Linked DNA regions of Homo sapiens: regions 2, 3, 4 and 5 are each linked to region 1. Evidence: promoter capture Hi-C in 16 types of primary human blood cells and fetal thymus (Javierre and others, 2016). All regions are on one chromosome and are shown on one strand. The core of a region is centred on a gene start or on the middle of the fragment in contact, and the rest is flanking DNA. Distances in the headings are between cores, read along the strand shown. Region 1 holds the start of SLC25A39 (solute carrier family 25 member 39). Region 2 overlaps HDAC5 (histone deacetylase 5). Region 3 holds the start of HDAC5 (histone deacetylase 5). Region 4 holds the start of ASB16 (ankyrin repeat and SOCS box containing 16). Region 5 holds the start of ASB16-AS1 (ASB16 antisense RNA 1).

Region 1 (5,826 bases), core at 1,182-3,681:
ACTGCTGGGATTACAGGCGTGAGCCCGACCTTGACTGATAGTTGATTAAATTATTTCGTGTCATTTCTGAACTCAGCTTGAGATGGGAAGGGAATGGAAAGGACGCCTTCTCTCGGGCCCTTTTGCCCAGCGCCCCTTTACAGGTCACAGATTGCACTCTCCCTGCTCCCAAGCTGGAGTTTCAGAGCTGTGGGGGAGCTCAAAGGCATTTTGTCAGGGAAAGCTGATAGTTGGCCCCTCGGAGTCCACGTGCTAACCCGGCAGGCGCCGGCTGACTGGGCTCCTCCAGCGCCGGACGCGACCAGTGGGGGCCTGAAGGGCGGGGAAGGCAGAGACGTCAAAGTCGAGGCCTACCCTTCTTAAAGGCGCAGGCTAGGAGTACCCATCTCCCCGCCCGCCCCCCCCCGCCTCCACCCGCCCGCCCGCCCCCCTCCGCCACCGCCCGCGCGTGCTGGTTTCTCTGTTAGGACAAATAAGCAAGATAGCACAGAAGTTCTAAACGCGAAGTGGGTGGTGGGGCCTGGGGTACGGGGCTGCCCCGGGAAATAAAGTGTCTCCCTGACAAGCGGGATCGGAGAGGGCAGCGCTGGACTTAAGCCTTCCTGTCTCCCGGGGAGGCAGTGTGGAGCCCTGGGAAAAGCACCCGGCCGGTTCGAATCTCCGGCTCTTCACGTCGAGCCTCAGTTTCACTTTCTGTAAAACGGGGTAATCTATTTCTTTTTCAGACGGAGTTTCGCTCTTGTTGCCCAGGCTGGAGTGCAATGGCGCAGTCTCGGCTCACCGCAACCTCCGCCTTCCGGGTTTAAGCGATTCTCCTGCCTCAGCCTCTCGAGTGGCTGGGATTACTGGCATGCGCCACCACGCCCGGCTAATTTTTTGTATTTTTAGTAGAGACGAGGTTTCACCATGTTGGTCAGGCTGCTCTCGAACTCCTGACCTCTGGTGATCCGCCCGCCTCGGCCTCCAAAAAGGCTGGGATTACAGGCGTAAGCCACTGCGCCCGGCCTTTTTTTTTGAGACGGAGTGTTACTCTGTTGCCCAGGCTGGAATGCAGTGGTGCGATCTCGGCTCACTGCAACCTCCGCCGGCCGGGTTCAAGCGATTCTCCTGCCTCAGCCTCCCGAGTAGCTGGGATTACAGGCGCCAGCCATCATGCCCGGCTACTTTTGTATTTTTAGTAGAGACGGGGTTTCACCATGTTGGCCAGGCTGGTCTCGAACTCCTGACTTCAAGTGATCCGCCCGCCTCGGCCTCCTAAAGTGCTGGATTACAGGCGTGAGCCACCGCGCCCGGCCTGTGGTAATCTATTTCAACAATAACCTACTGCAAAGAGTTTTGAGACTCAGAAGAAATCACGATACGAGAGCAACCAACACCAAAACGTCGATGCCCTCCCGCACTCAGTGCTCTTCCTCTCCGCGCAGAGTCATTCCGGGCCTTAGGCGAGGTTGTGATTTGCCCAAGGTCACGCGAAGGTGGGATCTGGCTCCCCATGGCTCTCCCGTCTCCCCCGGCTTGCTCACGTCCCAGCCCGCCCGGCCCGGGCTGCAGCTCAGCTAACCCAGTGGCGCACACCCGCGCGGGGCCCTGTGGTTTACAAAGCGTTTTGCAGTTGCAGGCCTGTCCTGTAACCTGAAAAATGGGGGCGATGCTAAGGCCGGCGAGAGAAGTCGCCGCGAAGTTTTCAAGTCTCGGCGGGTAGCCCGGCAAGTAACTTCGTCGTTATTGTGTGGTCTCCCGGCGATCTCGAAGAACTCATTCTCACTGCCGCCGCCACGCACCTGAGGACACCGAGGAAGAGGGCCAGTGCGTCACCCTCGCCGTCCAGAAGGCGCTGGGGTTTCCAGTGCCGCGCGCGGCCGGGGCGGGGCTGGTGAAAATGCGCTGTTAAGGCCGGCGCGGCGGCTCACGCCTGGAATCCCAGCACTTTCGAAGACCGAGGTGGGCGGATCGCTTGAGCCCAGGAGTTCCAGACTAGCCTGGGCAAAATAGGGAGACAAAAATAAAAGTAACAAACCAGCCGGGCGTGGCGGCGCGCGCCTGTGGTCCCAGCTACTCCGGAGGCTGAGGCAGGAGGATCGCTTGAACCCGGGAGGTCAAGGCTGCAGTGAGCCTAGATCGCGCCACTGCCCTCCAGCCTCGGCGACAGAGCGAGGCTGAAAAAGATGCTGTCTAAAAAAAGATGCTGGAAGTGCGTGCTGCTGCCACGTTAAGCGCGACGTGGAGACCGCGAAGTTGGCCGGCAGCTCTCAGCGCTGGACAGGCATGGAACTCGCCCGCGCGGCCCCGTCAAGGGGGCGGGACCGTCGCAGGTCCGGGCGGAGACGCGAGTGGGCGGAGCCGGGGACACTCCGGGCTTGCGGCTGGTCGGCCCGCGGCGGGCGGGGCCTCGTGGCGCGGTGTAGGGGCGGGGCCCCCTTGGCTGCTTTCGGCGTCGGCCTAGGTGCGCTGCGAGCGCGCGCGGACCGCGCACAGGCGGCGGAGCCGGTATGGGCCCGCCTGACCCTGGGCGCCGCGCCGCACGAGCACCAGCCTAGAGCCAGGTAGGCGGCACTGGGCCGGGGCTGGGGGCGGAGACGGAAGCGGGGGTCTCCGGGCGGCCGTGCGAGCCAGGGCAGGTGCTGGGGCCGTCGAGCTGGCGTGGTCCCCCTCACCTGGCGGCTCTCCGCCGTTCGGGGCCGGGAGTGTCGCCGAGGGTCGGGGAGACGTCCTGGTCCTACGTTCCTACTTCCCGCTCTCCCGGCTGCGCCCCGGGCCTGCATTTTGGGGCGGGAACCCAGAGACTGCTCTTTCTCTCCGGGCCCCGGGTCTGGCCCGTCCGGCCGGGCGGGGAGGGCCGGGCATCCCAGCCCGCAGTCCTGAGGAGGCGACGGGCCCTTCTTGGTCACCGGATCTGTTTACACGTCACCCTCGATGCCCGGCCGTCCCTCCACGCCCAGTAACTTGGGCTCTCAGGTGCCTGCCCGGGGCCTTGGTGCTGGAGTGGGGGCTGTGGGGGCAGCACAGGTACTCTGATTTTGGGGCCACGAGGGCCAAATCCGCGCCTGCACGTAGGAGGTGCGCAGTGGACACGTGCGAGGTGGACGAGGGAAGGACCCTGGCTCCTACTGCATTCGAGCGATAGGTCTGGCACCCTAGCTTCCTTCGGAACCACTCCTGAGTGACCTTGGGCAGGCCACCTCGTCTCCCCGAGCCTTAGTTTTCCCCGGCGGAGGGGGGCGGACAGTCCCTGCTTTAGAGGTCATTGCCAGGGTTGTTGAGGCAACAGATGTTTCGAGGGCGGTGGATGAGGGTTGGGTTAAAGTCTCACAGTGGGCCGGGTGCGGTGGCTCACGCCTGTAATCCCAGTGCTTTGGGAGGCTGAGGCGGGCGGATCACGAGGTCAGGAGATCGAGATCATCTTGGCCAACATGGTGAAACCCTGTCTCTACTAAAAATGCAAAAATTAACTAGGCGTGGTGGTGCGCGCCTGTAGTCCCAGCTACTTGGGAGGCTGAAGCAAGAGAACCGCTTGAACGGGGGTGGATGTTGCAGTGAGCCAAGATGGTGCCACTGCACTCCAGCCTGGCAACAGTGCGCAGAGCGAGACGCCGTCTCAAAACAAAAGTCTCACAGTGGCCCAGCCTCCTTTCCTGCCATCCCTGGAGTTGTGGTCTGTTTGAGGTTTGGTTTTCAGGACTGAAGCTTCAAGATGGCTGACCAGGACCCTGCGGGCATCAGCCCCCTCCAGCAAATGGTGGCCTCAGGCACCGGGGCTGTGGTTACCTCTCTCTTCAGTAAGACCTAGGGGAGGTGGGGTGGGGGCGGGTGGGGATGGGGCAGACCGGAGATTGGAGGCTGTGTGGTCCTGGGGGAGGAGTCCTAGGGGTGGGGTCCTGAAAGGAGCCTTCAGACCCGCTTCCTCCCCCAGTGACACCCCTGGACGTGGTGAAGGTTCGCCTGCAGTCTCAGCGGCCCTCCATGGCCAGCGGTGAGTACCTGACCTGGAACTAGTGAGGGGTGGTGCCTGGGCAAAAGAAAGATCTCCCAGAGGCTGGCCGTGGTTTCTCATACCTGTAATCCCAGCGCTTTGGGAGGCTGAGGTGGGTGGATCACCTGAGATCAGGAGTTCAAGGCCAGCCTGGCCAACGTGGTGAAACTCTCTCACTACTAAAACTACAAAAATTAGCCGGGCTTGGTGGCATGCGCCTGTAGTCCCAGCTACCTGGGAGGCTGAGGCAGGAGAATCGCTTGAACCGGGAAGGTGGAGGTTGCAGTGAGCTGAGATTGTGCCACTATGCTCCAGGGTGGGCGACAGAGCAAGACTCCATCTCAAAAAATAAAATAAAAAGATCTCCCAGAGATGGGGTCCCTAGGGCGGGTGGGGGCTCTCCTGACTTGAGGGGCTGCCTTGTATTTTAGAGCTGATGCCTTCCTCCAGACTGTGGAGCCTCTCCTATACCAAATGTGAGTGCCCCAAGCCACAGGGAGCATGGGAGGGTGCAAGGGGGAGACAGTCCTTGTCCCTGTCCCCAGGGCACCAGTGGGCTCCACAGCCATGGACTAGCATATACTCCCAGGTCCTGCCAGCCAGTCCTGTGACCTGCACCAGAACATCCACACAGGGACCTGGCCTTTACTGGCCTTCCAGGGATAGGGGCCCACTGCCTCCCTGCAAGGTTCTAGGATCCTGTCATTATAATGCCCCCTGCCTTTCCCCAGTGCCCTCCTCTCTCCAATCCACAGGGAAGTGCCTCCTGTATTGCAATGGTGTCCTGGAGCCTCTGTACCTGTGCCCAAATGGTGCCCGCTGTGCCACCTGGTTTCAAGACCCTACCCGCTTCACTGGCACCATGGTGAGGAGCAGCTGGGTCCGTAGGGATTCGTCGGTGTCCGTGAGGAGTTCGGTCTGGCTGGGCAGCAGACCCAGGAGTAAAGGGATTGGGCAAGGCACGCAGAGGTAGCCGGTTCCGTCAGGAAGTGCTTCCGGAGAAGGCAGTACCTCCATGGGGTGTTTGTTTTCTTTTAGACAGAGTCTCGCTCTGTCACCCAGGCTGGAGTGCGGTGGTGTGATCTCAGCTCACTGCAACCTCTGTCTCCTGGGTTCAAGTGGTTCTCCTGTCTCAGCCTCCGAAGTAGCTGGGATTACAAGCGTGCACCACCACCTGCCGCTAATTTTTGTATTTTTAGTAGAGACAGGGTTTTGCCGTGTTGGCCAGGCTGGTCTCGAACTCCTGCCTCAAGTGATTTATCCGCCTTGGCCTCCCAAAGTGCTGGCTGGGATTACATATGTGAGCCACCGTGCCTGGCCTCCATAAGGTTTTTGAAGGGTGACCAGGTGTCCGCCTGGACCCAGCTGCTGGGGTACTGCATGTGTAGAGGCAGGGAGGCCTGAGGGCTGTGGGCAGAGGCTGAGGGCGTCAGGCAAAGGCCTAGCCTGGGCCAGCCCCATCACAGACATCACTTGTGTCCCTCCTCTTCCCCTGGGCTGGTGCCTGCTTGGCCAGGATGCCTTCGTGAAGATCGTGAGGCACGAGGGCACCAGGACCCTCTGGAGCGGCCTCCCCGCCACCCTGTGAGTAGCCGGGTCCTGCACCACTCTCCTCTGGTACTTCCTGACCCTTTGCTCCCTGTTGAATGGCTAGGTGGGGCAGGTGATGCTTTAAAAGTTTGGGTCCTTTTGGGAGTCCCAGCTAACCTCTCTCTGTATCCCCAGGGTGATGACTGTGCCAGCTACCGCCATCTACTTCACTGCCTATGACCAACTGAAGGCCTTCCTGTGTGGTCGAGCCCTGACCTCTGACCTCTACGCACCCATGGTGGCTGGCGCGCTGGCCCGCCGTGAGC
Region 2 (5,826 bases), core at 950-3,449, 220 kb after region 1:
TTGCCTCTGGATATGTGGGTGTGCATCCCAAGCTTCAAATTGGAAAGTGGGAACTGTGTGCCTCTGCAGGTGCCTGTGATTTGGCTCTGAGCTGCCCAGGGATAAGGTTGCAGTGGGACTTGGATGTGTCAGAGCATGAATGTTTTGGGAAGATTCAAAAAATCTTTGGAACATGGCTTATCATCTGCCCAGGCAGGGATGCCCATGCAGTTTTCTCATGTAGGAGCATGACCCTGAAGACTAGCCCTGCAGGGTATCCATGCAGGCCCCGAGGATAGGGGCATTACCCTGGGGCCAGCCCTGTAGGCTGGGGTGGGGATGGGGGTGTAACCTTGGGAACCGGCTCTACAAGATACCCACGTAGTCCCCTGAGGTAGGGGCGTATGCCTGGGGGCCCCCTACACAGGTCCCTGGGATGAGGAATAAACCCAGAGGGCTGGTTCTTATCCTGGTCTGGAGTCCACAGGTCCAGCTAAAGACCCTGCCTGCTGGCCCCTAGCCCACAGCCTCTGGGACTCAAGGTGGTCTCTTGGAAGGCAGAATAATCCCAGAGCATCTGCTTGGGACAGCTCCACGCCATCTGGCTTATCAGGTCCACCCATCCTGCCCTGTCGCCTCTGTTCCTTGCTACCAGCAGCAGCCAGCAGTTGGCCGGAAGTTTCCTCCTCAGCTTGTTCATTCACCTGCTTCCAGATTGTACCCCAGAAACCTTGCAGGCTGGGACCCTGCTCTCTCATCTCCTCCCTAAGCCTGGCTGCCCCTGCATGGACTCCCAGGCAGCCCCTCTGTCCAGATCCCTGTCTCCCCACTCCACCCCCAACGCTGGCTGGCCTTCAGAGTGGTGGCTTGGTCCATGCTGGCAGGAGGGAGGCGTGAGTCACCTCAGCGGCTCGGGGAGAGGGCTAAGAATGTTCCCCCTGCGCAGCTCTGATGCTGTGTCTGTGACGCGGCTAGGGACAGATATAGGCCTGGAGCTCGGCAGCCTTGTTTTTTTTTTGTTTTTTTTTTGTTTTTTTTTTGGACTCTGGAATGTAAATAGATGTTTCAAATAGAAACACTTTAACCTTTGGGTTAAAAAAAATCCACCCCGGATAAACACGGCCATGAGGGCCCAGGCAGCCTGGTGTTTCCCTCCCCACCCCCTCTCCCCATCTCTTGATCGGTCTCCAGACAGGATGCAAGATCCTATGGCTGAAAAAGCAGGTGTCCAGGGAAGCTTCTTTGGATGGTGTGAGTTGCGCAGGTCTCCCAAGCCCAAGGGGTTGGGGCAAGGGTCTTTCGAGGGTGGTGCCTGCCTGCCACCTCCAGCAGCATCTTTAGAACCCTATTTTAGGGATAGCCTTTGCTCTCTGGGCTGTCTTGGTTGTTGCCATTGCCCAGCACCTAGCACAGTGCCTGGCACATGGATGAATGAATGTCGCATGGGGAGGGCTGGAGTCCAGAATTGCTGGCAGGATTCCTGGGCTCTATTCTGGGGCCTGGACCTCTGGGTGAATAGAGACAGCTTTAGTGAGTCACCCCAGCGGGTAAGACAGAGCCTTAGCCTACCGAAGGACAGGGGCAGTCTGCTGTTCTTGCTTAAAGAGTGGGGCGGATCTCAGCATCTGCTCTTAGCGATCAGAGGTCTTCCTTGATGGATGGGGTCTCTGCCTGGCCACCCTACCACAGCTCCCCAGTGCACAGTGGGCACCACCATCATCCCAGCTTAGTTCTGGCTTGGGGAGCCTGGGAGTTTGAACTCTAGTATGGGATTCTCAAGGACACAGAGGTGGGGAATTCTCTGCCTCCCTTATGTGGGCCCTGGATTCCCCTTTGTCTTGTACTGGGTGGAGCTGATGCCCAGACAATACGCAGGACTTTATGAGATGGCATGGAGGAGGAGTCTGCTTTTCCCATGGAGGGAGGGTGTGAATCCTGCTTGTGCCAGGAAGGAATGCTATGGACACTGGGAAGTGCCATGGGGTCCAGGTTTGGTCTTAGGGCTTTCCCTGGATATTCGTGTTCGTGCTCTTCAGTCTTTCTGGGTTTGGCTGTGTGTATAGGTATGTAGTGCCGGGAGGGTAAGAAGTGCAAGACTCAGGGGTGAGAGTGGAACTATTATAATGCACTGAGTGACAAGGCTATCAGGTACTTTCCCTGCCCTTTTTTTTTTTTTTTTTTTTTGATACGGAGTCTCCCTCTTTTGCCCAGGCTGGAGTACAGTGGCACGATCTTGGGTCACCACAGCCTCCACCTCCTGGGTTCAAGCGATTCTCCTGCCTCAGCCTCCCGAGTAGCTGGGACTACAGGCACACGCCACCGTGCCTGGCTAATTTTTGTATTTTTAGTAGAGATGGGTTTTCACTATGTTGGCCAAGCTGGTCTCGAACTCCTGACCTCGTGATCCGCCTGCCTCAGCCTCCCCACAGTGTTGGGATTGCAGGCGTGAGCCACCACGCCCGGCCCTTGCCATATCTGTTTTAGGACAGTGTTGATAGCTGTGGTGTATAATTGAGAAGGCTCAGAGAGGTTAAGGAACTTACTGGACATGGTAGCTCATACCTGTAATCCCAGCACTTTGGAAGCCTGAGGGAGGAAGATCACTTCAGGCCAGGAGTTTGAGACCAGCCTGCGCAGCATAGCCAGACCCTGTCTCTACAAAAAAATGTAAAAAAAAAAATTAATCAGGCACAGTAGCATGCACCTGTAGTTCTAGCTACTCAGGAGGCTGAGGCAGGAGGATTGCTTGAGCCCAGGAGTTTGAGGCTGCAATGAGCCATGATCACTGCATTCCAGCCTGGGCGCTATAACAAGACCCTATCTCTTAAAAAAAGGGAACCTGCCCAAGGTCACAGAGTAAGTGAGAGCTGGAATTTGAACTCAGGTGTCTGGGTAGGACCATTGCTAATCCACATAAAAGCTACTTTTGGCCGGGCTCGGTGGCTCACACCTGGAATCCCAGCACTTTGGGAGGTTGGGAGTTTGAGACCAGCCTGACCAACATGGAGAAACCCCGTCTCTACTAAAAATACAAAAAATTAGCCGACGTGGTGCATGCCTGTAATCCTAGCTACTTGGGAGGCTGAGGCAGGAGAATCGCTTGAACCTGGGAGGCAGAGGTTGCGGTGAGTCGAGATTGCGCCATTGCACTCCAGCCTGGGCAACAAGAGCAAGACTTTGCCTCAAAAAAAAAAAAAAGCTTCTTTTGTGCAGATTTTTAAAAGGTGGCCCTCTTCTGGGTAGATACGTCCTCATGCCAGTGTGCATGGCCTGGCGATTGGAGCTTGGGCTAGATGTCAGCCCCAACTCACCCCTTTAGACGAGAGCCCATGTGCAATATGCCACCTACACAGCCTTAAGTGCTGGGCCTGTCAGTGCGCGTCCACAGTTTGTGCTCCTAGAGCACAGGAACCATTCTAGCCTTGGGGGCCTCCTGGGGTTGTGAGAGGAGGCTTTGTTTTCTGTAAATACTGAGGACCACTTGGTCTGTGATCTTTCTCCCTGAGGGGATTTTAGCCCAAGGAGAGGAGGGGCTCAGGAATAAAGTTGAACACCAGCCCCCATACAACCTCCTGTGTCCCCCTCCCCCTGCCTCATCCCCTCTTCTTGTTTTTGAGACCCTCAGCTGTCCCTTCCCTGCCACACAGCTGCCAGACAGGAAATCAGATTAACTGTGTCCATGCACACAGCTGTAACAGCTGTCAGGTTGGCAGGAGGCAGCCTGGGGACGCTGTGAGGCAGTGGTTCTCAAACTTTTGGTCGCATCAGAATTAACCAAGGGAGCGTATTAAAATGCAGATTCTCAGGCCTTGACACCCTGCCCCCCCAACAAAGGTTTGGATTCTGTAGGGCAGCCCAGGAACCAGTGATTTAAACTCATGTCTCAGGTGATTCTGATGCGAGTAGACTGAGCCCATCCTTGGAGTAAGAGCTGTGTGGACATGGGTCACAGGGCCCAGCAGTCAGCCAGTAGATGTCATCAGCATCCCTGGAAGGCCTTAGTGGGTCTTGGGACTCCTGGGAGAAGGGCCTATACAGGAGGAGGGAGGCTGTCGCCCTAGAAAGAGGTGAATCCAACTCCCAGCCGCCTGTCAGTCAGGAGAGAGGATGTTTCCAGCCGCCAGGGAGCAGGTGTCTAAACCCCAGTGGAATGGGGGATTATGGCAAGCAGCCAGGTGGGCAGGGTGCCCTGCTGGACACCCAGGGCTGTGCTGTGCTTAGGGAGTGGAGGCAGATCTGCTCTGGAGCCCCTGCCATTCCACCCCAGGTGTGGAGCAAACAGTCCTAGCAATAGCTGCAGACTTTGAATGGTTAGTGTGCCTTTTACTTGCCTGTAGCTTTGTACCCAGGTATATGCTAGAAATGGCTGGACTGGGAAATGTGAGTCTATTTCTCCAGAGAGCATCCCAGGATCGACTACTAACTCTATTTGCACCAGTGAGAGATGTTTTATGCCTTCCATCAGGGCTCTGCATCCCGAGCTTAAGGTCCTTCAGAGTCACAGTCTGCCTCAAGGTTTCTGGGGGTTCCCTGCACTTGATCCCATTCTCCCCTGCACCCCTGGGCTCAGATGTTCTGGGGACCAACCAGGTGCCCTTGTCTAGACCTCTGGATCCTTAATACAGAGTTTGGCCCCTTGTTGCATCTCTCATTCAGTTTGAGACCGGGCCTTAATGTTTCCCCTTCTGTTTTTTAGTGGGGAGAAGACAGAGAGCCAGAAGAGCTGGGATTAAGCCCTGGGTCCTCCATCTCCTTTCCAGGTGACCTTGGACAAGTCTCTTCCTTCTCTGGCCTCACTTTCCTCCCTCTGAAAACAGGGGGAATTGAGTTGCTGGTCTTCAGGCCTTTCCTTCCCTGACACTCTAAGGGTCTCTGAGGTCAGTTTCACATTGTGTCTGCTTTGTGGGAAGAGGGGCTTAGGGCCTCCTATGTCCTCAGCCCGGGAGGATGTGGAATAGAACTGGGGAGAGAGGTGTCACCTGCAGTGGGGCTCAGTGAGGTTGGAGCCCAGGGAAGAATTTTGGACTGCTTGCAGCTGGGGGCCCCGAGAGCAAGGCCCAAAACTTGTGCTTATCTGTGCTAAGTAATGTTTTTGAGGGACAAAAGGGATCCCACAATTGTGGCCTGAGCCAAGAGCACAGAGTGGCCCTTCCTGGAGGTAGCGAGGCAGGTGAGATGGCCTGGAAGTGCGGGAGTGGGAAGGAAGCTGCTCTCAGAGATTCCTCCTCTGGCATCGACACCCAGCCGCTGGCTGCACGGGTTTGTGTTGTGTGGGACCCACAAGAAGGGCTTTGTTTGTGCCAGGACCGCAGAGTGACATTCAGACAGTCTGAAATGAGTGCTAAGACTTCCCTCTGGTGGGATTCTGAGGCTGGCACCCTTAGAATCCAGGTGGTCTGTGAAGTTGGCCCCACTTAAAAGATTTGGGAATTCTTAAGTATTTCATTTTATGCACTTTATTTTTTATTTATTTTTTTAATTTTTTTTTGAGACAGAGTCTCGCTCTGTTGCCCAGGCTGGAGTGCAGTAGTGCAATCTCAGCTCACTGCAACCTCCGCCTCTGGGTTCAAGCGATTCTCCTGCCTCAGTCTCCCGAGTATGTGAGACCATGCCTGGGTAATTTTTGTATTTTTAGTAGAGACGGGGTTTCACCACGTTGGCCAGGCTGGTCTTGAAATCCTGACCTCAAGTGATCTGCCCACCTCGGGGTCCCAAAGTGCTGGGATTACAGGTGTGAGCCACTGCACCCAGCCGATTTTATGCACTTCAGAAACATCCTGAGAAGGCCAGGCATGGTGGCTCACGCGTATAATTCCAGCACTTTGGGAGGCCGAGGCAGGCGGATCA
Region 3 (5,826 bases), core at 2,207-4,706, 200 kb after region 1:
ACTGCACTGTAGCCTGGGAGATACAATGACTCTGTCTCAAAATAAATAAATAAGTAAGACAAAGTAAAGACAAACATTCTGGTATTTATTCTTCTAGGCTTTTTTTGTTTCAGTTTTCTTTTTTTTTTTTTTTAGACTGAGTCTCTCTCTGTCACCAGGCTGGAGTGCAGTGGTGTGATCTCAGCTCACTGCAACCTCCACCTCCTGGGTTCAAGCGATTCTCCTGCCTCAGCCTCCCGAGTAGCTGGGACTACAAGGCATGTGCCACCACGCCCAGCTAATTTTTTGTATTTTTAGTACAGATGGGGTTTCACCCTATTAGCCAGGGTGGTCTCGATCTCCTGACCTTGTGATCCGCCCGCCTCGGCCTCCCAAAGTGTTGGGATTACAGGCATGAGCCACCGCGCCCAGTCCTCCTTTTTTTTTTTTTTTTTAGAGATGGGGTCTCCATATGTAGCCCAGGCTGGGCTTGAACTCCTGAGGTCAATGAATCCTCCCTTTTCAGCCTCCCAAGTAGGTAGGACTACAGGTGTGTGCCACCATTCCACCATGTCTGGTTAGGCTTTTTTTTTTTTTGAGACAGGATCTCACTTTGTCACCCAGGCTGGGTGCAGTGGTGTGTTCTTAGTTAGCTCACCTCTCCGGCTCAAGCTATCCTCTCACCTCAGCCCCCCAGCGTGAGCACAGGTCTGGCCCTTGGCCAGGCTTTTTGATATACACATATACTCAGGCATATGAATCTAGTTTGTTGTTTTTATAATAATGGAACAATTCAGTAATACTTGTTTGAGTCCTGATTTTCAAGAAAACAATATATCACGGGCATCTTTTCAGGTCGGTATAGACCTATAAAATTTTTTTTCTTCTTTTTTATTTTTTATTTATTTATTTATTTTTTGAGACGGAGTCTGGCTCTGTCGCCCAGGCTGGAGTGCAGTGGTGCTATCGCAGCTCACTGCAACCTCTGCCTCCCAGGTTCACGCCATTCTCCTGCCTCAGCCTCCCGAGTAGCTGGGACTACAGGGGTCCGCCACCACGCCCGGCTAATTTTTTTTGTATTTTTAGTAGAGACGGGGTTTCACCATGTTAGCCAGGATGGTCTCGATCTCCTGACCTTGTGATCCGCCCACCTCGACCTCCCAAAGTGCTGGGATTACAGGCGTGAGCCACCGCGCCCAGCCTATTTTTATTTTTTTTTTTGAGACGGAATCTCGCTCTGTCACCCGCCCAGGCTGGAGTGCAATAGCCCGATCTCGGCTCGCTGCAACCTCCGCCTCTCGGTTTCAAGTGATTGTTTCGTCTCAGCCTCCTGAGAAGCTGGGATTACAGAAGTGCACCACCACGCCCGCCTAATTTTTGAATTTTTAGTAAAGACGGGGTTTCACCATTTTGGTCAGGCTCGTCTCGAACTCCAGACCTCGTGATCCGCCCGCCTCGGCCTCCCAAAGTGCTGGGATTACAGGCATGAGCCACTGCGCCCGGCTATTTTTTTATTTTTTTTGAGACGGAGTCTCACACTGTTGCCCAGGCTGGAGTGCAGTGGCGTGATCTCGGCTCACTGCAACCTCTGCCTCCAGGGTTCACGCCATTCTCCTGCCTCAGCCTCCCGAGTAGCTGGGACTACAGGCGCCCGCCACTACACCCGGCTAATTTTTTTTTGTATTTTTAGTAGAGAGGGTTTCGCCGTGTTAGCCTGGATGGTCTCGATCTCCTGACCTTGTGATCAGCCCGCCTCGCCCTCCCAAAGTGCTGGGATTACAGGCGTGAGCCACCGCGCCTGGCCTCTTCTTCTTCTTTTGTTTTTGTTTTTTGTTTTTTTGAGACGGAGTCTCGCTTTGTTCCCCAAGCTGGAGTGCAGTGGCGCGATCTCTGCTCACTGCAACCTCCGCCTCCCGGGTTCACTCCATTCTCCTGCCTCAGCCTCCCAAGTAGCTGGGACTACAGGCGCCCACCACCACGCCCGGCTAATTTTTTGTATTTTTAGTAGAGACGGGTTTCACTGTGTTAGCCAGGGTGGTCTCGACATCCTGACCTCGTGATCCACCAGCCTCGACCTCCCAAAGTGCTGGGATTACGGGCGTGAGCCACCATGCCCGGCCCACGCCCGGCCTCTTTTTTAAAATACAGACAGTGTCTCGCCATGTTACCCAGGCTGGTCTTGAACTGGGCTCAAGCAATCCTCCCGCCTCGGCCTCCAAAGTGCTAGGATTGATGACAGGCAAGAGCCAATGCACCTGGCCCCTTTAAAACTTTTTTTTTTGAGGCAGAGTTTCACTCTTGTTGCCCAGGCTGGAGTGCAATGGCACGATCTTGGCTCACTGCAACCTCCGCCTCTCAGGTTCAAGGGATTCTACTGCCTCAGCCTCCTGAGTAGGTGGGATTACAGGCGCCTGCCACCACGCCCGGCTAATTTTTTTGTATTTTTAGTAGAGACGGGGTTTTACCATAATGGCCAGGCTGGTCTCAAACTCTTGACCTCAGGTTATCCGCCTGCCTCCGCCTCCCAAAGTGCGGGGATTACAGGCGTGAGCCACCATGCCCGGTCCCCTATAAAACTTTTAATGTCTGGATAATATTTTACTGAATGAATGTCTCCTGCTTTGCTTGCCAATTCCCTATCGATGGATATTTAGGTTGTTTTCAACTTTTCACATCATTACAAACAATCTCATGTTCATTTTTTAACATAACAACGTTTATTTATTTGGAATACATTTTTGTTAGTGGAATTGCTGGGTCATTGACAAATTGTCTAGGTCTAATTAAACATGTTCATACTGTGTACCAAGAGGAGATGTAGCGTGGATGGCACCAAAGTCAGGGAAGTCTTTCCGGCTCCTGGTCTGCTGGTCTGCCCTTTTGAAGGCCTTGGAGTGTTACAGCCATACCCTGGCCTTTCCCAGGCTTTTCTTTCCCTGGCACGGATGCAGTGTGTGCGGTCAGAGCTGGCGAGTTCGAGACTTGTCCGAACCATCCACCCGCAGCCAGGCCCCGCTGCAGAGGCTGCGGTGGCCCTCCCAGCCCCTGGGAATCTATCCCCAGGTCCCCTCCCCGACCGCGGGAGGGCGTGTTAGGGGAGCAGCTTAGGCAAGCGACGATTGCACCATCCACGTTTTGAAAAGAAAGTCCGGGGAGCGCAAGGAGGAAACTTTTACAATCCAAAGGTTGAGCCCCAGCATCCATACTCGGCCCCTGCAGCGATCCTTCCACTCCTGCTCGCTGGGTTCCGATCCCTTCCCTTCCACCCCGTCTCGGCCGAACCCTGTGCTGGGCACTGGCCCTTTAAGGAGCTGTCACGATGGCGTCGCTGGCCCCGCCCGGCGGGGAGGGCCGAGAGGCAGGGGAGGGGTTGGTGGTGGCTGCGGGCAAGGGGAAGGCGGGGGGGGCTGGGGGGGGGGTCTGGGTCTATTTTTAGCTCCGGGTCGGGTCACGTGACGGGAGTGACGTCTCCGAATGTTGTTGTTGGTGGCGGCGGCGAGCGGAGCCGGAGGAGCCGCCGCAAAGATGGAGGAGCCGTCGAGGAGGTGCTGCCGCCGCTGCCGCCGCCGCTGCTGCCGCCGCCGCCCGCGAAGCCGGAGCTCGAGCCGCAGCGGGTGAGCGCGCCGCCCCGGCCCAGATCCCATCTTCCCCGGACCCCGGGACGCGAGGCGGCGCCCCCTCCTCCTGCTGTCTCTGTCCGCGGGCTCCCAGCGCGCGCGCCGCGCTCCGCGCCCCCCTTCCTTCCTCCCGGCCCTGGGAGCCAGCCGGCGCCCCCCGGGAGCATCGGCAGCCCGTGAGCGGGACATCGGGGTTGCTGCGCGCGCCCCTCCCTGCCCCTCCCAGACAGGGGCGCCTTCCCTACAGGTAAGGGAGGGGCCCGCCTTCTCGCGCCCTGCGCCCCCAAATGGCTCGGAGACCGGCCGGGGTTGTCTGATTTGCCCCTTCCCTGGCGGCGCATGTTGCGTTGCAGAGCCATTTGAGCCCTGCACCCGGATTCTGTGCAGACCCCTCTTCGCTGGACACCCCTTTCTTGGTACTCTGAGGTGAGGGGTGCTGTCCACCCAGAGCGCTTCTCCCCATAGCTACGAACGCATCCTTGATTTTATGTCCTTGACTTCCGTGCATGAGGAGGGGGACTGCGGAGTCCACCTTACTTCTCTCTCCCATTATTCTCACCCCGTCTCCTGTGAGGCGTTACTGCGTTTGTTGCCACCCTCTTCTCCTGTCTGACACCTTGGAGCCAGGATGCGAGAGCTAGGAGATGAAATGGAGCTCCCCCCCAACCCCTTCTTGTCTTGGGTGGATGCCCCCCATTTTTCATCCTGGATCTGTATCTCATGGAAGCGGGGGCACTACCAGTGCCTTATTAACTTGGGGGGAGTCAGCTTCTCCACCCCACCCTTCCCTGGGGCCCTGGGGAAGATGAGAACTGGCTGGGTGTAAGTAATTAATCTGGGAGCTTGGTGGGGGCTGTTGAAGTGGGGAGGTTGGGTGCTTCCTTTGGGAGAGGAGATGACCACTTGATACCCCTGGCTGATACCCCTTCTGAAATGAGGTGTGTCCCTAAAGAGGAAAGGTAACAGCTGCAGTTGCTTTTAGGAGGGTGCAAAAGGGACCCATCACTCAGTCAGTGACCACCATGCTTTTGGGATCTGGGATTAGATTTGGAGCTTGGGGAGGTGGTGGTGATTGGTTTCAGTGTCCAACTGGGAGGGGAGGATGGAGCCAGATTATGGGAACAAAAGGAGGTGGGGGGGAGGGTGAGATCCAGGAGTCTTGGTCAGAGGGACCCCTAGCCAGATTGCCTTGCAGGATTGCAGTCTGGGTCTGGGTCCTGCCTTTGGCTTCCTCTTAGTTTCAGAGGATGTAGGCAGGCAGGCATGGTCTTCAGTCTCCCCAGTCCTAGGCACCCTGAGCCTATGCTGGCTGTTGAGATGCTGGGCTGGGCTGGGCTGGGCTAGGCTGGCTGGGCTGGATGGTGGATGAGCCATGTTGGGGGCTGCCTGCTTCTTCATTCCAGTCTTCCCTCCTTCCTCTCCCTCCCTAAACACAAAGCTTGGGGAGATCTTGGTTTGTCTCCTTCCTCTTTTCTTGACTCCTCTCTTTGCCCTCTCTTCACTTGAACTTGGATCTGGGCTTTCTTGACAAAGCAGTAGGGGTCTCTCTGAGTTAGAGAAATGGGCCCCCAGTATCTCCACTCTGTCCTGGGAATGTGGGCATGCCAGAGACCAGAGAGACAGATCTCAAGTGTGGGTTACTTGGGGGCAAGGATGGAGGAAATGTTAGTTCTGTGCCAGCCTCCCCTTCTTTTCCAATATATCCTCCTACTTTGGCTGGATCATGTAATTTGGAGGGGGGCAGCAGTTTCACATGCCCCACCCACCCCAAGTAGCTGCAGAGACAAAGGTTTGCTTTGCCTTCCGTAGGGGTGGCATCTTAATTGTGTGTTTAGAAATGGGGCCTGGGAATGTTGGGCGGGGGTCATTTGTGTTCCCGCATAGTGGGGGAGGGGGCATCAGCTATAGGAGCTGGGGGTAGTGCAGTCGGTGCTGAAGTACCAGCTGCTCTTTAATAATTAATTCTTCCTACTCACATCCCTTTGAGGAGGGATGTCTGGAACACAGCATTAGGCTCAGCCAGCCTGCTAGAGGACGCACTCCTGTTGGTGGCAGTAGGGGGGGGAAGGGGGAGACAGCAAGGGGGGGTGGTTCTTGGCATTTTTGGAGCACTGTAGCTTGCTCATGAATGAAAACCTGATGTAGCCCGTGAGGGGGCCTATTGTAGCCGACTTTAGCTAATTAAACTTTCTCTGCCTTTCTTCTTCCCTATCCCACCTCACCCCAGGCC
Region 4 (5,826 bases), core at 1,409-3,908, 150 kb after region 1:
GTGTGTAGTGGCACAATCTCGGTTCACTGCAACCTCTGCATCCCGGGTTCAAGCGATTCTCCTGCCTCAGCCTCCCGAGTAGCTAGGATTACAGGCGCCAGCCACCATGCCCAGCCTGGCTAATTTTTTGTATTTTTAATAGAGACGGGGTTTCACTATGTTGGCCAGGCTGGTCTTGAACTCCTGAACTCGTGATCCACCCGCCTCAGCCTCCCAAAGTGCTGGGATTACAGGCGTGAGCCATGGCGCCCGGCTTTTTTTTTTTTTTTTTTTTTTTTAAGACAGTCTCGCTGGAGTGCAGTGGCAGAATCTCGGCTCACTGCAACCTCTGCCTCCCGGGTTCAAGCGATTCTTGTGCCTCGACCTACTAGTAGCTGGAATTACAGGTGTGAGCCACCACACCTGGCCAGATCTTTCTTAATACCTCAAAACAACTAGGAATTTGGGCTGGGCATGGTGGCTCACGCCTGTAATCCCAGCACTTTGGGAGGCCAAGGTGGGTGGATCACTTGAGGACAGGAGTTCAAGACCAGCCTGGCCAACATGGCAAAACCCCATCTCCACTAGAAATGCAAAACCTAGCCAGGTGTGGTGGCACACACCTGTAATTCCAGCTACTTGGGAGGCTGAGGCATTTGAACCCAGGAGGCAGAGGTTGCAGTGAGCTGAGACCACGCCACTGCACTACAGCCTGGGCAACAGAGCAAGACTTCGTCTCAAAAAACAAAAAAAAACAGCTAGGTTTGGCTACAAAGGATTCACAGGGTATTGGAGACTGCAGTTGGAACAGAGTTTTCCCAAAAAGCAACAGGGCTTCTGCCTCCTGGGCTTAGCAGATGTGACCTTGGACAAGTTACTAAGCCTTTCTGAGCTTCATTTTTCTCATCTGTAGGATGAGGTGTCTCCAGGTTATTGTGAAGATGTGTATATGCGGTGCTTTATGAACCACAAAGCTGCATGTGGTTGTCAGGTTCCCTCTTCTGGCCTTGTGAGCTGGAGACACACACACACATTTCTCCCCAAACTGTCTCAGCCCCCAGGCACCTACTGCAAGGACTCGGGGATCGTGCAGAGGTGCAAAGGAGTCGTGCCCTCCTCAGTCAGCACATTAGCCTTGGCTCCGAAGGTCAGCAGCAGCCGCACACAGTCAAACTGGGCTCGGGCACAGGCCTCATGCAAGGCAGCGCGACCCCCGACACGGGCATCCAGCTCAGCTCCCTGCCGGATCAGGTGTCGAGCACAGTCTGTGTAGCCTCGGGCTGTAGCGATGGCGAGGGGTGCCGTCTGCTTGGTCTTGGGGGTCAGCACCCAGAACCCTAGGGAGAGCAAATAGTTTTGGGAGGTGGTGTATAAGACAGGGCAGGGCAGGGAGTGGGGATGCTGGTTCCAGCTGACAGCTGACACTGGCCTTCCCTCTGCATGGTTTGCTGAGCACAAACACTGCCAGGCTGTACCTGTGGAAGGGGGCTTATTCAAGTCCTGAAGTGGAAGAATAAATTGGAACAGCCTTTTAATACAGCTTATCAATCTGTAACAAAACATAGTATGTGTCATAAAAAAATTAATTGCTGTATAAAACCACAGGGGCCAACTAAGTAGAGTGACTCCCATTAAGGAAATCTCAGCGTCTTTGAATGGCTAATAGTGTCAAAGGCTTGTTCACCTTGGGGCCTGGGGTGGTGGCTCACACCTGTAATCCTAGCACTTTGGGAGGCCAAGGCGGGATGATCACTTGACCTCAGGAGTTCGAGATGAGCCTGGGCAACATAGTGAGACCTTGTCTCTTTTTTTTTTTTTTTTAGGCAGGGTCTCGCTCTGTCCCCCAGGCTGGAATGCAGTGGCGCTATCTTGGCTCACTGCAAGCTCCGCCTCCCGGGTTTAAGTGATTCTTCTGCCTCAGCTGCTGAGTAGCTGGGATTACAGGTGCGCACCACCATGCCCGGCTAATTTTTCTATTTTTAGTAGAGATGGGGTTTTACCATGTTGGTCAGGCTGGTCTCAAACTTCTGACTTCGTGATCCGCCTGCCTTGGCCTCCCAAAGTGCTGGGATTACAGGCGTGAGCCACTGTGCCCGGTCAACTTTTAATTCTTAAAAGACATACAGACTGCTAACCCTGCCTCATCTCTGTTTAGGAGGGAGCTAGGATAGGTGGTGGAAAGGGCTGCTATAGTCTGTGGTCTGCAGGGAAGGAGGGGCCTAGACTCTCCCCCTTCCCCACCCACTCCCCTTCTTTCTCCCTCCTCTTCTGCCCTCTTCTGGTGCCCCCTACCCTGTTCAGCCGACCAGGCCAGCTGGTTGCTCACAGTCTCCACAATCATGTTGGCGGCCTCTTCATCTTGGAACAGGGCTTGGACCTGCTGCAGGTTGCCGGAGAAGAGGGCTTGGTGGACAGCTGGGTCTCGGCAGGAACGGTGAGGCCTAGTGAGTCGGGCCCGGGGACTTGACGGGCACCTGCGGCTCCGGCACTGCTGGGCAGCCGCCCGCCGCCGGTCCTCCCATTCCAGCCACTCCTGCTGCAGGCGGAGAGAGCGCAGCATGGAGGAGGTGAAGGGGAAGGTCTCTCTTGCCATGGATGGGGCCCAGGGGTTTGGGCAGTGGCACCTGGGCAGAGCCAGGTTCCCTCGACCCGACTACCTCCCTTGCTCTGAGGAGCCACCCTGCCCCCGCCACCGTGAGCCAGAGAAAGCAGCAGCTGAGGCTATAAATAGGTCCTTTGCTGCTCTGGTAAACATGGTTTGCTCAGAGTCATGATCCTGGTGCTGAGAAGCTGCTGGCCCAACCCCCAGCCCAGGGTGAGGGCCAGCCCCTGCCCCTGCCGATACCCTTTGGTTGGTCAGCAGGCCCTCAGCTGAGGCCACCCCCGAACCCCAGCATCTGCATCCACCTTCATCTCTAGAGCGAGCATCTTGGGTTGGCAAGGTCCAGGGTGCGCAAAAAGGTCAGTCATGGAGATGGGCAGGGCTGGGAGGAAGACAAGGTGCCTCCAGCCTCTCTGATGTTGGCTGGAGGGCAGGAGCCACCATTGGCCCACGTGGAGGAGAGAGGGCTGACCTCAGCACAGGAGGTAAGGGGAGGTCAAGGCAGAGTTACTGAGAAGGTGAGCAGCTCTTCCCAGCATCTGCAGTAACAGCAATAACTCTGTACATATGCACAGAGTTTCACGGTGTTTAAATCACATTCATATCCACCTTCACCCAGGGGATCATACTTCCCAGCCCACCCAATAATTAGTAAACTTGGTTTGGACAATAAATGAAATTATCACAGTTGAATGCCCCTGAGATGGGTGGTCTTATCTCTGTTTTACAGATGAGGAATTTAAGGCTTAACAAAGTAATCTACTGGCTCAAGGTCACAGTTTGTGAGAGGCAGAGCCAGGACCCCACATAGATGGTGTGCTTTGGGCCAAGAATGGTGGCTCATGCCTGTAATCCTAGCACTTTGGGAGGCCAAGACAGGAGGATTGCTTGAGCCTAGGAGTTTGAGACAATCCTGGGCAACACAGTGAGACCTATATCTTTTTTTTTTTTTTTTTTTTTTTTGAGACAGAGTCTCACCCTGTCTCCCATGCTGGAGTGCAATGGCACGATCTTGGCTCACTGCAACCTCCGCCTCCCGGGCTCAAACGATTCTCTTGCCTCAGCCTCCTGAGTAGCTGGGATTATAGGCACCCGCCACCATGCCCAGCTAAATTTTGTATTTTTAGTAGAGATTTAATTTAGGGTTTCACCATGTTGGCCAGGCTGGTCTCGAACTCCTGACCTCGTGGTCTGCCCGCCTCGGCCTCCCAAAGTGCTAGGATTATAGGCGTGAGCCACCACCCCCTGCCTCTCCATCTCTTAAAAAAAGAAGAAAAAAAAAAAAAGATGGTACACTTTTTGCCTTCAGCTGCTGCAGCCACCTGGCAGCCTCCCCCATTCTCCAAGCAGGACAGACTAGTCTGTAGAAACTGCCTTCAATCATCCTTTTTTTTTTTTTCTCATGGTGTCACCCAGTCTGGAGTGCAGTGGGGTGATCTCGGCTCACTGAAACCTCCGTTTCCTGGGGTTCAAGTGATTCTCCTGCCTTAGCTGCCTGAGTAGCTGGGATTATAGGTGCATGCCACCATGCCCAGCTGATTTTTGTATTTTTATTTATTATTATTTTTTTTTTGAGATGGAGTCTCGCTCTGTCACCCAGGCTGGAGTGCAGTGGCGCGACCTCGGCTCACTGCAAGCTCCGCCTCCCGGGTTCACGCCATTCTCCTGCCTCAGCCTCCCGAGTAGCTGGGACCACAGGCGCCTGCCACCACACCTGGCTAATTTTTTGTATTTTTAGTAGAGACAAGGTTTCGCCGTATTAGCCAAGAATAGGATGGTTTCGATCTCCTGACCTCGTGATCCGCCCGCCTCGGCCTCCCAAAGTGCTGGGATCACAGGCGTGAGCCACCGCGCCCGGCCGATTTTTGTATTTTTAGTAGTCGGTTTCGCCATGTTGGCCAGGCTGGTCTGAAACTCCTGACTTCAGGCGATCTGCCCGCCTCGGCCCCCCAAAGTGTTGGTATTACAGGCGTGAGCCACAGCTCCCAGCACCTTCAATCATCCTTGATTTATTTTTTTAACCCAGCTGCTAAGGGGGCTCACATGGCCGGCCTGAGGAGAGCCAAGGGGTTGAGCTGGAAACTCTGGGAATGGACCTAAGATGTTTAAGCCACAGACCTGTTCACTCTTAGGAGAAAGCAGCTGTGCTTCCAGGAGCCTCTAGGGGGAGGAATGAAGCCGTGAAACCACACAAGCTGGTGTGCCTGCCAAGCTGGGGAAGGGGAGGGCTCAAAAGCTCTGCTCACCCTGAGCTCACTCAGTGCACAGCGGCCTGCAGGCAGGGCTGGTCTGTCCCCTCTGCATCTGGGGCTCCTCCTGGCCCTTCTCCCGCTGCCTGTCCTGCCTCCTGGCCCTGCAGCAGCACCTTGCCCAGTGATCTTTTATTTCTTCCTCTCCCTAGGCCCTTCCCATAAGCAAGTTCTAGCTCCTGTTCTTACATTTTCAGGGACTGTCTCAAGTTCAGCCCCTCGATGTAATGCCTTAAACCTGGATCAACTCAGTCTTTCACCTGGTGTTTCTTCCTCTGGCCATATCCCTTCTGCTCCGCTGCCGGAATGATCTGTCTAAAATGGTTAATTCCCTTGCTTAAAAACTTCTGCTGCCTTCCAATACCTGTCCTTTCATTTTTTTAAAATAGGGCTCCAAATCCTGGCCTCAAGCAGTCCTCCCAAGTCAGCCTCCTGAATTGCTGGGATTACAGGTGTGAGCCACTGCACCTGGCCTGCCCTTTTCAACTAAGCCCCCAATTCCTTGGTTTGGCCCCATGCCACTCACGTAGGGTAGGCATCCTCATCACGCACGGCTCCCCACAACCGTTCCCTGTCAGGCCATTCCCTTAGCTCAGAATTCCCTCAACACCTTCCTGAGGATCTACCCCTAAGGTCACCTGCTCTGAGAGGTCTCTTCAGCAACCCATTGCCTGACTCTTATAGTTCCAGCCACTGCCCAATCTGCACTCCTGAAGGACTCAGGGGCACGCTGTAAAGCACCTATCTATGCTGTTGATGTGGGTCTGCCATGCTGGATGTGGGCTCCAGAGCAGGCCCTGGCAGTCAGAGCACTTGGCTCATGGCAGGCGGGCCTCTTATGTGTAGTGCATTGAACGAAGGTCCCTGTTCTCTGCCAGAGCAAACATCCATCCACCCGCCCGCCCAAGTGGGTGGCAGCAGCCTGGGCTTTTTCCGGCATTGCCCCTACTCTACTGTTCACCTACTCTCTGCCTGGCTCCAGCCTCTTGGTGGCAG
Region 5 (5,826 bases), core at 1,259-3,758, 140 kb after region 1:
GGAGGACGGATGTGTCGCCTGCTGACACAATAGCGCCCAGGAGCTGGTTGCTACCGCTGTCTGCTACGTAGGTAGAGAGCCAAGCTAGGACCAAGGCTAGAATCAGCACCACCACACCTGCCACCACCATCACCTCATTACCCACACCCTCAATGAGGGTGACATCAGAGAGCTCCATGGCCTGGCTGCTGGCAGGGTCCACGCTGCAGGAACAAAGGGGGACAGCATCAGCAGAGCCTGAGGGGTTGCAACCAGGTCTCTAGTTTGTTTAGGTTCTAACTGACCCAGCCCTGAAAAAAAAAAAAAAGGAGTTCAGTGTTGTGTAGAAGGGGGCACAAACCTTCCTAATTCCGGCACCCCAACCTAAACCTAAAGACCTACCCTACCCTTTGCCTCTATTGTGAAACTCTTGCTTTCACGTTCTGTGACCTTCCTCTCTCAAACTCCAACTTCCCAATGAGTGTGGATCAGCAGGAAAAGCCCACAGCCTTGCTGCTGCTGCTACTGTTGTTGCTTTTTTGGTGAATGAGGAAAAATCTTTGCTGAGGCCTGAGTTTCTCTAGGATTTCTATCGCTTGGTCAAGCAAATATGCCTCCTAAGCAGCCTCCAAAGTGGCTTCAGAGAGACCCAAAAGCCTGGAATATTTTACTGTGGGGCCCCCCTGGAAGCACTGTTTAGCCATCCCTGCCAGATTGTCTCATTTGAGCCTATTTCATTCCTGGTCACAGATCCAGGCTGCCAGATGTCAAGAGCCAAAGAAAACTGACCTACCATCAAAAGCAGAGTCAGACAAATCTAAAACGATAACTCTGTAGGGACCGCGGGCAGATACTATGCAGCAGACATTATGTGCCGCCTCTGAAACTTCTGGCAAGCCCTGGGGAGCAACTTGGGACAGACACCAGAAGCACCACCTTCCTGGGTCACCATGGGCCCACTCCTGCAATGACCACTCCCCAAGTGGAGTGATTTGAAAAAGATTCCATAACAGCTCTCACAATCCATATCTCAGTCTCTCTTCTTTCACTGTGAAGGTTCTGCTGCTGCAGTTTCTTAGAAAGGCAGGAAGGGTCCCTGCTTGCTCCTTGGAGTACCTACTATTTCCCTTGGAGAATCTGCTGCTTTCACAGCTGTCCCTGGGCAAATCCAGTCTGGTGATTACCATTATCAGACTATTCTCACAGCACCTATAAAACTTCATTATACTTATGTACCTGTCCATCTTTCTATTAGACTCCTGGTAGACAAGGATCGTATGTATTTCTCTTGGTACTGAAGTGTCCAATATAATGCCCCAGTAGTTGCTCAAAGAATTATCTGTGGAACACATCAACATCCTTATTTAATATACCGGCCCTGGAGTTAGAAAAACAACTAATTATAACCCCAGTCTTGCGTCTTACTAGCTATAACACCTCAGACAACTTTCTCAGAGCCTCAGCTTTCTCATCAGTAAAATGGGGTTAAAAACAGTACCTACCTCATGAGGTTGTTTTGAAGATGACGTGAAATCATCGAAGCAAAATACTTGGCACAGTGCCTGGCACACTGCAAATTGCAATTGCTTAATAACGGTAGTAATTATTTATCACAACCACAACTAACCCCTGATGGTAAGAAGGTTAATGTTATTAACCATGATTTACAGGAAAAGAAACTGCGGCAAAGAAAGACGAAAACGATTGGCACAGACACAGGGAACTCTCGTGGGGAGGGGCCCGGCAGGACCCCAGGTGTCCGGCCTCAGGGGTCTTTGCTCTGTCCCTCAGCCTGTGATCTACCCTGTCCGTACCGTGACCGCACGGTGAGGAGGGGTCCCGCACCCTTTTTCTGAGGCGAAGGTTCCGCTTTTGGATGGTCCTATTCCCTCGGCGTTGGACTGGGGTCCATGGGCCCACCCGAACCGAAGGGCTGCCTGGCCCCAGCCTCCGTGATAAGACCAGTTGTCCCGGCCAGTGAGGAGTAGGGTCGGCTAAGGGGGTCACAAACCGTCCACACCCCTCAAACTTCGGGGCGGGGCTGGGGAACTGGGGGCGGGGCTTCAGGACGCGAGGAGTCATGGGAAATTAAAGGGGGATTGGACCGGCACTGTGCCTGGATGGGGAAGTCCTCACCTGAAAAGACCAGACTAAATGTTTTGACCTCGCCAGGACGGCCCCTGGACTCGTCTTTCCGTAGGGGTCGGGAAAAGGGCTGGCAATCTGCGATTCTGTTCAGGGTCCGGTCTCTTCCGGCTTCTCCCGGAAGCTGTTATACCAGGGACAGGAAGTCCCGCCTCCGCGCCTTGCACTGATGACGCGAAGCTGCGTAAGACGGGCTGACGTAAAAGGTATTCTTTAAATAAAAGGGACAGGTTTCTCAGCGGAAGGAGGGGTGGAGTCATTGTTGGCGGGATTGCGGCCCTCCCAGAGCGGGGCCACGCCTGGTGGGCGGGGCCTTAGGCAATCCAGGGTGAGAGGCGGGGCCAGGGGGGAGGAGTTAGCGCGGAGGTACTTGGGAAAGGGGCGTGGCTTCGCGACTGCGGAAGGTTGCCCGGGCTGGCGCCGCTGGGCAGAGCCGGTGCGACGTTTCCCTTTCCAGCTTTGTTCTTCCGGCCCTGCTGTCTGCCTCCCCGGCTGATTGGATTCGTTACTGCTTTGCAACGCGCACCTAACTCCAGGTTAGCGGGGATTAGTAAGAACTCAGCTCTGGGCCAGTCGGGAAGACAGATAAGGAGACCAGTTAGTCAGCATCCAGTGCTTGAAGAGTGCGGCCCCAGGTAGTGTGGGACCCGGAGAAAGAAGGCGGGAAAGCATTTCAAAGAAGGCACAGATTCGGCGCAGGCTTAGGACACAAAAAGGGGGAAAAGTCCAGCTTTCAAGAACTTATCCAGATTTTTGCAGTTAAAATTTTTTCTTTTTTGAGACGGGAGTTCCGCTCTTGTTGCCCAGGCTGGAGTGCAATGGCGCGATCTCGGCTCACTGCAACCTCCGCCCCCCCGGGTTCAAGCGATTCTTTTGCCTCAGCCTGCCGAGTAGCTGGGATTACAGGCATGCGCCACCACGCCCCGCTAATTTTGTATTTTAGTAGAGACAGGGTTTCTCCATGTTGGTCAGGCTGGTCTCGAACTCCCGACCTCAGGTGATCCGCCCCCGTCTCGGCCTCCCAAAGTGCTGGCATTACAGGCGTGAGCTACCGCGCTCGGCCGCAATTAAAATTTTTTCTAAAAACTTACTGTGGCCGGGGGGAGTGGCTTACTCTTGTAATCCCACCGCTTTGGGAGGCAGAGGTGGGAGGATCGCTTGAGCTCAGGAGTTCGAGGCTGCAGTGAGCTATGATCTGAGCCACTGCATTGCACCCGACAGGGAGGCCTTGTCTCCAAAAAAAAAAAAAAAAGCGCTGGAGTTTGGGGTTTTGGAGAACTACTGATTAAAGGATAAATAATCCAGACAGGGGCAAACATAAGCAAAAAGCTCGGTGGCTTCTACCAACTGAACACTGGCAGAAGTAGCACTTAGATCAAGAAATAGATAATTAGGACTGGCGCGGTGGCTCACGCCTGTAATCCCAACACGTTAGGAGGCTAAGGCAGGCGGATCACAAGGTCAGGAGTTCAAGACCAGCCTGGGTAACATGGTGAAATCCCGTCTCTACTAAAAATACAAAAATTAGCCGGGCGTGGTGGCGCACGCCTGTAATCCTGGCTACTCAGAAGGCTGAGGCAGGAGAATGGCTTGAACCTGGGAGGCGGAGGTTGCAGTGAGCTGAGATGGAGCCACTGCACGCCAGCTGGGGTGACAGAGCGAGACTCTGTCTCAGGAAAAAAAAAAAAAAGAAAGAATTACCCCAGAATCTCCCCCTTCATGTCTTCTTCTAGCCATTAACCTCCAAAGAGTAATCACTATTCTGACGTCTGTCACCATACATTAGTTTTTCCTGTTTTTGTACTTGCTATAAATGGAATCCAACTGTGTATCCTCTTCGGTGTCTAGCTTCTTTTTTGTAAGTCCTTTCATTGTGGTAAAATAAACATAGCTAGGCACAGTGGCATGCACCTGTAGTCCCAGCTACTCTGAAGGCTGACTCAGCAGTGTCACTTGAGCCCAGGAGTTAAAGGCCAGCCTGGGCAACACAGGGAGACCTCTATCTCTAAAGATAAATATATACATATACGTAACATAAAACTTAAAACCATTTTAACTATTTTTAAGTTTGCAATTCAGTGGCATTAAGTACATTCACAAAGCCGGGCACAGTGGCTCATACTTGTAATCCCAGCACTTTGGGAGGCTGAGGCAGGAGGATCCCTTGAGCCAGGAGTTCAAGACCAGCCTGGGCAATATGGTGAGACCCCCATCTCTAAAAAAAAATTAATTAGCTGGGCATGGTGGCGTGTGCCTGTGGTCCCAGCTACTCAGGAGGCTGAAGTGGGATGATTGACCCTAGGAGGTTAAGGCTGCAGTGAGCCATGAGCCAGCTACTCAGGAGGCTGAGGTGGGATGATTGCTTGACCCTAGGGTCAAGATTGCAGAGAGCTGTGATCGCGCCACTATGCTCCAACCTGGGAGACAGAGTGAGACTCCGTCTCAAAATAAAAAAAAATGTAAAGGAAAATAATTGTCTTCAGCTGAGCATGGTGGCTCTAGAGTGTAATTGCAGCACTTGGGGAGGCTAAGGTGGGAGGATCACTTGAGTCCAGGAGTTTGAAACCAGCATGGGCAACATTGCGAGACCCTGTCGCTACAAAAAATTTAAAAATTAGCCAGGCCTGGCGGTGTGTGCCTGTAGTCCCAGCTACTTGGGAGGCTGAGGTGGGAGAATCATTGGAGCCTAGGAGGTCAAGGCTACAGTGAGCTGTGATTGCGTCACTGCACTCCAGCCTGGCATACAGAAAGACCCCGTTTCAATCAATCAATAAAAACCACTCTGGGAGATCTTCCCAAGGCAGTACACATGCTGGTCACTTGGAATCCCTCCCTAGTTCTTTCCTGCCATGGGTAATATGGATTTGTCTAACCACTCCAACATGAGTTGTTGCAAGCAACGCTGAGAGGAATATTCCTGTATGTAGCCTGCCTTTTGTGTAACTGGGAACAGTGTTTAAGGAAGTGGCCAAATTGCCCCCAAAGAGGCGATTTGTCCACCAACAGGATTTGCACACCTGGCCTTGTATCCTGATTTTTTTTTTTTTTTTTTTGGAGACGAGTTTTGCTGTCACCCAGGCTGGAGTGCAGTGGGAGATCTCAGCTCACTGCAACTTCCGCCTCCCAGGTTCAAGTGATTCTCCTGCCTCAACCTACTGAATAGCTGGGAGTATATGTGTGTGCCACCACACCTGGCTAATTTTTGTATTTTTAGTAGGGAAGGGTTTCACCATGTTGGCCAGGCTGGTCTCGAACTCCTGGCCTCAGGTGATCTGCCTGCCTCGGCCTCCGAAAGTGCTGGGATTATAGGCGTGAGCTATCGCGCCTGGCCTACTTTTTGTATTTTTAGTAGAGAAAGGGTTTCACAATGTCAGCCAGGCTGGTCTTGAACTCCTGACCTCAGGCGATCCACCCGCCTCGGCCTCCCCAAGTGCTGGGATTACAGGCGTAAGCCACTGCACCCAGGTATTTTTCTTTTTTAACGGTATCTTTTGTAGTTGTAAATATATCAGAAAAGGCTGAGCTGGCTGTGGTCGGCGTGCTGTAAAGGGGTAGAAAGTTCAGCATTGCCCCTGAGAGTGAGGCTCCCAGCCTCCCTCTCTAGGGAGGAGTTCTTTTTCTTCTGTCAGGCCTTTTGGCTCTGTAAAACTAAAGCACAAATTTTCATCCAGAAAGGGGGTGTTGCATTCTGCATAACAAGGT

Evidence for each region. Contacts are between HindIII fragments. The CHiCAGO score rates a contact against its expected background, and 5 or more counts as called.
Region 2: a fragment that was not itself captured here is called in contact with the fragment with the promoter of SLC25A39 in region 1 in 1 of 17 cell types (naive B cells); the score reaches 5.2 in naive B cells.
Region 3: the fragment with the promoter of HDAC5 here is called in contact with the fragment with the promoter of SLC25A39 in region 1 in 10 of 17 cell types (total CD8 T cells, naive CD8 T cells, naive B cells and 7 more); the score reaches 9.6 in total CD8 T cells.
Region 4: the fragment with the promoter of ASB16 here is called in contact with the fragment with the promoter of SLC25A39 in region 1 in 11 of 17 cell types (total CD8 T cells, naive CD4 T cells, naive CD8 T cells and 8 more); the score reaches 9.3 in total CD8 T cells.
Region 5: the fragment with the promoter of ASB16-AS1 here is called in contact with the fragment with the promoter of SLC25A39 in region 1 in 8 of 17 cell types (total CD8 T cells, naive CD4 T cells, naive CD8 T cells and 5 more); the score reaches 9.2 in total CD8 T cells.

The regions. Positions count from the first base shown.
Region 1 is chr17:44,321,428-44,327,253 of GRCh38, reverse strand. It overlaps SLC25A39 (solute carrier family 25 member 39), which reads left to right and starts at 2,431. Exons shown (of 12, transcript NM_001143780.3): 1 at 2,431-2,543; 2 at 3,677-3,776; 3 at 3,911-3,970; 4 at 4,402-4,446; 5 at 4,702-4,835; 6 at 5,487-5,554; 7 at 5,696-5,820. The coding sequence starts at 3,692. LOC124904009 (a long non-coding RNA gene) reads right to left here and starts at 1,801. Exons shown (of 2, transcript XR_007065768.1): 1 at 1,633-1,801; 2 at 1-312. RefSeq lists enhancers at 1,349-1,398, 657-1,508, 1,579-1,638, 1,689-1,768, 1,929-2,118 and 1 more, a cis regulatory region at 7-684 and silencers at 2,219-2,648, 2,669-2,888. The HindIII fragment of the contact is 4,927 bases long and covers 1-3,686 here.
Region 2 is chr17:44,103,945-44,109,770 of GRCh38, reverse strand. The region is part of intron 3 of HDAC5 (histone deacetylase 5); the gene reads left to right. Among named protein-coding and RNA genes, the nearest start is that of HDAC5, 17 kb to the left of the region's middle. RefSeq lists an enhancer at 3,837-4,488. The HindIII fragment of the contact is 1,962 bases long and covers 1,219-3,180 here.
Region 3 is chr17:44,121,271-44,127,096 of GRCh38, reverse strand. It overlaps HDAC5 (histone deacetylase 5), which reads left to right and starts at 3,456. Exons shown (of 27, transcript NM_005474.5): 1 at 3,456-3,593. RefSeq lists enhancers at 1,449-1,948, 3,095-3,254 and silencers at 3,345-3,404, 3,475-3,574, 3,625-3,764. The HindIII fragment of the contact is 7,779 bases long and covers 1-5,036 here.
Region 4 is chr17:44,167,536-44,173,361 of GRCh38, reverse strand. It overlaps ASB16 (ankyrin repeat and SOCS box containing 16), which reads right to left and starts at 2,658. Exons shown (of 5, transcript NM_080863.5): 1 at 2,272-2,658; 2 at 1,049-1,316. The coding sequence starts at 2,572. The HindIII fragment of the contact is 23,995 bases long and covers 1-5,826 here.
Region 5 is chr17:44,183,399-44,189,224 of GRCh38, reverse strand. ASB16-AS1 (ASB16 antisense RNA 1) reads left to right here and starts at 2,508. Exons shown (of 3, transcript NR_049730.1): 1 at 2,508-2,660. TMUB2 (transmembrane and ubiquitin like domain containing 2) reads right to left here and starts at 2,253. Exons shown (of 4, transcript NM_001076674.3): 1 at 2,116-2,253; 2 at 1,482-1,549; 3 at 1-203. The coding sequence starts at 1,516. RefSeq lists an enhancer at 2,395-2,929. The HindIII fragment of the contact is 11,845 bases long and covers 1-5,826 here.